2 separate regions of the Homo sapiens genome follow, and region 1 is linked to region 2. The links are contacts of gene promoters, found by promoter capture Hi-C in blood cells and fetal thymus (Javierre and others, 2016). All regions are on one chromosome and are shown on one strand. The core of a region is centred on a gene start or on the middle of the fragment in contact, and the rest is flanking DNA. Distances in the headings are between cores, read along the strand shown.

The links. The method cuts DNA at HindIII sites, captures the fragments that hold promoters and counts their contacts. A CHiCAGO score of 5 or more calls a contact.
Region 1: the fragment with the promoter of DCTN2 here is called in contact with a fragment that was not itself captured in region 2 in 1 of 17 cell types (neutrophils); the score reaches 5.2 in neutrophils.

Annotation. Positions count from the first base shown.
Region 1 is chr12:57,545,841-57,548,540 of GRCh38, forward strand. DCTN2 (dynactin subunit 2) reads right to left here and starts at 1,352. Exons shown (of 14, transcript NM_001261413.2): 1 at 1,188-1,352; 2 at 188-256. The coding sequence starts at 1,223. RefSeq lists an enhancer at 1,481-1,620. The HindIII fragment of the contact is 9,827 bases long and covers 1-2,700 here.
Region 2 is chr12:57,253,902-57,256,601 of GRCh38, forward strand. It overlaps R3HDM2 (R3H domain containing 2), which reads right to left. Exons shown (of 24, transcript NM_001394031.1): 22 at 2,513-2,610; 23 at 2,089-2,173; 24 at 1-1,212. The coding sequence ends at 872. Among named protein-coding and RNA genes, the nearest start is that of STAC3, 4.1 kb to the left of the region's middle. The HindIII fragment of the contact is 2,452 bases long and covers 195-2,646 here.

The DNA of each region.
Region 1 (2,700 bases), core at 102-2,601, 290 kb after region 2:
CCCTCCTGCCATTGCTCATTGGTGGCTGCAAGCCCAGCAAGGTCTTTGCAAGCCCTGCAACCTATATACCACCCAGGCTGGGGTTGGCATACCCGCTTATTGCTGTAGCTCCCCCGAGAAAGGGAAGGACCTGTCTAGGGGAGAAAGGTCAGAGTCCGGAGGAGTCTGTGGCAGCACACATTCTTACCGCATCGAACTCCGCTTGATCATCCTCAGGTAGGTCGCTAGTTTCATAAACATCTGGCTCATTCCTGGCCTGCAGGTAGAAGCAGTGACCACCCAACCTCACTACCCAGCATCCAACAACACCCCTTCCCCCACTCCATTTGAATAAGCTAACAGAGAAGGCGGGGTGTGATGTCAGGGTTCTGTCCTTTCTCCTCCACCTGCCCCGTGAGTCAACAGTATGTCAGTTCCCATGTCTCAAGGGGTAGGGATGACAGCGGAAACAATTGGGACCTGACAGTAAACGGTGAGTGTAAGTGATAGCAACGATGTTACCCTAAATCTAGAGGCGGGCAGGTCCTTGGCAATCACTATTGCCAAAGAAGGTGAAGGCTATCCTCCAATTAGGCCCCGTACACCACCACCCTGGCACAAGGATTGAGAGTGACTCAGGACCTTAGTACTCAAGGTCCTGTGTCCCAACCCTCACCTTGAGAAGCAGGCAGGGCAGCACAAAAGGAAGGTACACGCCAGGATTGTCATGGGAGTGGGGGCTGGGGGAGGGCATAGGTTCCCTCAAGGATAGAGCTCCCCATCTGGCACAAGAGGGTTCTGCCAGATGGCAGAACCTCTTCCTTGGCAGGATGAAGGCCATCGTTAAGTGGTCTGGTGTGTGTGTCTGGGGTAGCGATGGGGTCTTATGGAGAGATTTGGGGGGGACATGGGAGGCGTTGACACGGATGGTGGAAAAACTCAGGCACAAGAGGTCAGTACCCGGAGTCGATTTCTGGGCCGAGCTACCGGCGACTGCCGGAAAGGGGGCCTGGTGCGCCGTCCGGCGGCCCGGCCCAGTCGGGTCAGAAGAGTTCGGGGGGTGCTGAGGCCGATCGGAGAACGAGCGGCGGGAGCCCTTGGGCGGAGGATGGGCTGCAGGCGGGAGGGGTCGCGGGCTGGTTTCTGCTGGGGGTCCTTGGGAGGTCGGGGGCGCGGTCCTGGGGAGCCGGGGCCGGTCCTGTACTCACAATGCCGGGAAGGTCGGCGTATTTAGGGTCCGCCATGGCGGCGGCGAGACGGGCTGGGGGACCCGGGCCTCGGTGGAGCCGGGGCCGGTGTTCGGGTAGGGGAGAGGCTGGGTTCGGGTCCCGGGCTAAGGCGGCGGCAAAGGGAGCGGCAGATGAGCAGGAAGTCTCGCGACAGCAGTAGCACAGCAGAAGGGTAAAGCAAAAGTCGCGAGAACAGCCCTGCTGCCACACCCCTGGAGAGGCCGGGATTGGGGAGAACGAGGCCAGGGAATGAGGTAATGGCCAGGGGACGCCGCCTAGGATTGTGGGATGTGTAGTTTTGGTGTACTGGAGCTTGGGCGGGGAGCGACAATAACGAACCTTGGGGAGCTATTTCATACAGCCTTTTCTCTCACTTTTACAGCAAGTCAGTGAAAGAACATTTATAATTCCTGTTTGGGGCTCCCAGGAATAAAATGACTAGATTAAATGATACAGGTAGTCATACTGTGACACAGCCGGGGTTTCAAAAACAAGAAGTTTGCTTGATACTGTGTATTATAAAAACAAAATAAAAACAAGAAGTAAAATTTAGTAAACGCGTAGTGTATGTTAGGAATGAAAAAGTTAGGCAATCTTCTCAAGTAAGGGCTTTCAGATAATTTGAATTTCAGATAATAAGTAGGTGTGTGTGTGTGGTGTGTGGTGTGTGGGTATACTAACCCCCCAAAAATTAAGTATCTGAAATTCACATTTAACTGGGCATCCTGTTTTTGTTTTTTGTTTTTCAAATCTGGCAATTCTATCTGAAGTTCATAAGTAGGTAAGTGGTGTCTCCATGTCTGTCTGAACACTCTCTGGGCTCTTAACTACTTCGTTAATAGTTCTCAGACTTTTATTTATTTTTCAATTTTTTCAATTTTGTGGGTACACAGTAGGTGTATGTATTTATGGGACACATGAGATATTTTGATACAGGCATGCAATGTGAAATAAGCACATCATGGAGAAGAGGGTATCCATCCTCTCAAGCATTTATCCTTTAAGTTACAAATAATCCAATTACTCTTTAAGTTATTTTAAAATGTACAGTTGAGTTATTCTTGACTATAGTCACCCTATTGTGCCATCAAATAGTAGGTCTTATTATACTTTCTAATTTTTTGTACCTATTCACCAACCTTACCTTCCGTTCTCAGACTTTTAAATTTCATCGTTCAATAAAATTAAAACAACTACAAACCTTGAAGATTTGCCTTTTTATTTTATCAAGTAAGTATATTACAAATAGAAAACCTATTATTTACTGTCACCATCATTACTTGGTAGAAAAGCAAGAAGGACACACTCAGAATAAAAGATAGTCCTTTGAAACTTATCAAATCCATCTTTATATTAAAAAAAAACTCACCATTGTTCTTTTGGAGGTGAGGGCATACTCAGTGAACTTTTGTCTCTGACCAGTGACCCTCCATGGACTGGCATTTTGAAACCCCTTTACTAAAGATGCCACCTTGGAGCCCCTGGGGACCCA
Region 2 (2,700 bases), core at 171-2,670:
CTGTGTCTGTTACTGCGGCACGAACCTCAAACAAACAATATACAAGTGTTCTGGGGGGGCCAGGGGAATCCCAAGTTTTAACTCTGTGGGGTCTAGGAAGACAAGATGGGGAAGTGAGAGAATGGGGCAATCAATTTTGTTTATCTTAATTCTGTCCATATAAATATATTCATAAAGACCAAAAAAGGAAAGGAAGCTTGGGATGTTAAGGTAATAGGAGGACAGTGTGGGACTTTCCCAATTCTACCTGACCAAAAAATGAGAAATTAATTTTATGATAGGAGAAGAGATTTAAAAAAATGATAGAAGAGGATGGAAGCCAGGCACAGTGGCTCACGCCTGTAATCCCAGCACTCTGGAAGGCCAAGGCAGGTGGATCACCTGAGGTCAGGAGTTTGAGGCCAGCCTGGCCAACATGGTGAAACTCCGTCTCTACTAAAAATACAAAAATTAGCCGGGCATGGTGGCGCGTGTCTGTAGTGCCAGCTACTTGGGAGGCTGAGGCAGGAGAATCACCTGAACCCAGGAGCTGGAGGTTGCAGTTAGCCAAGATCGTGCTACTGCACTCCAGCTGGGGTGACAAGAGCGAAACTCCGTCTCAAAAAAAAAAAAAAAAAAAAAAAGAAGAGGATGGGAAGAAGAGTGATGCAAGGGGGGTCAACCAGGGAAAAAGAGAGGACCCATGGCAGGGGAGCAAGAAGGAGTCCAATGCCAGTGTAGGTATCTGTGTTTCCATCTTCATCACTGTCTTAGGTTCCAGTTTAACATCAGTTTCCTTACTTCCTGCCTCTGTCCATGGTCTGTCAGGATCCTTCAACCCCCTCCACCCTGCCCTTGCTCCTTCTGTGACAGTCCCTTTCCCCTCCTCCATTTATTGGGAGCTGGCTCGCTCCAGGATCCTCAGGTCATAGTTCTTTTTGGCCATTCGAAGTTTGAAGCGACTCACGGAGTTGTTGAGACGAAGGGAGGCATTTTGGGCAGCCAGGGGGCTGGGGAACACAGCCACAATGGTGTACAAGGCAGCGAGGTCCGAGTGGCGGCCATTCTCAGCAGTCCCACTGTTGTCCCCCCCACCCCCTCCAGGCAGCCCCTGAGCATCCTTGAGCCACTGGATCTTGGCGCCAGACATGGCGAGCTGCGTGAAGAGTTTGTCCGCCTCAGTACGGGTGATGCCCTCAGGGAGATCTGTCACCTCCAGCACCCGCCCCAGGACTGGAAGGGGAGGAGAGAGGACATGGTTGTGAGAGGAATAGGACAGGAAGGACTTGACAGCAGCCCAGCAGAGAAGTGTCCAGCTGACTAAGTCTGTATACAATGTCTTCAAAAGCCTGGCCTTTCTCTCTTAGCCCTTTCTTCCCCTCCCCACCATCCCAGCTCTGATCAGGGCAACTAGGAGAAAAACAAATGAACCTTTCTATTCTCCTAGCCCAGAGATACAGGAAAGAAGGGACAGGGAATCAGAATCCTGGGTTTCTGAGCTAAGAACCTATACCTCAGTTCTCTCACAAGGTGCTACTGCTATGAAGAAAATGTGGCTTTTGCTAATGTTCTTTAACAATAATGTATCAATCTGAAATATGTTCCATAGTTCCCTTCCCACTCAGAGGCTGGCTCAAATAGATTCTTCCTTCTTATCATCTCAGGAAGTCAAGTTTCCCTTCCTTTCCTTGTTTAGGAAATTGCTCCAAATCCCAAGACAGATCTTGTTCACCTAGTGGGAGGCTTGTAGGACGAGAGTTTCTCCCCCATATTCTCTACCAATCTTCTCCTAAACTGGGTCTAGGACTACCAAAGGTAGATGTCGTAGATTAGGGACAGGACACTAATTAGAAAACTCTTTGTTAATAAGAGGCAACTCCCATAATTGTGTTATTCCCACTTTTTACCATGATCTTCCTCAGAATCTGAGATGGCTTGGTAGGGAGGACTGAGATACTTCACTTCTCCAGTTTCTGCTTGCTTTTGAGCACAAAGGGTCCCACTTCCACTCCCCATCCTAAGCTGGCTTTTCCCACCCATGCTGGACTGGTAATTAAGCGCTGGAAGGGTGGGCACCTTCTCTTGGGGATTCAGCATCCCGTGACTCACCAACATCTGCTGTCCCCAGGTCAGTGGAGGCAGATTTGAGTGCTTGTCTCTTGCCCCGGTTTCCATGCTTCAGTCCACTCTGTCCCTTCAACATTTGAAAGACGACTCTCATCCCATGTAAACAACATTGACTGCCTTGCATCAGAATGTCTGCCTGAGAGATTGTGGAGTAGCACCAACCCAGAGGACCCCACCCCACTAGGCAGTCAGGTTGGCCATGGAGCAGCGACTGAGAAACAAAGAGCCCCTCCCTCTTGGCATGGGGGTCGGGTGGGAGACATGAGTATAGGAGGTAGGGCAAGGCTCCTGCTTTGTTCATTCTGTGTTATTTCCCTTGTATACCCAGCTGGTTGAAGCTCAGACACAGGCACCCAAATAAGAAGAGGGGTCTGATGGCCCTACAGTTGCTGGTGGACACCCTTACCTGGTGCACCGTGTAAGTTGACTGGCCATGGAGCAAGGGAGGGCAGATGGACAGATTGTACTGTAATGGCTGGCCCAAAAGGGAGTAGCGCCCATCACCTAGGGAGTAAGAGCAATTGGTTTTCTGGGAGCTTAAGCTTCATAGTATGACTTTTATAAGACTTCAAGGGGCTTTGGAGACAGCAACAA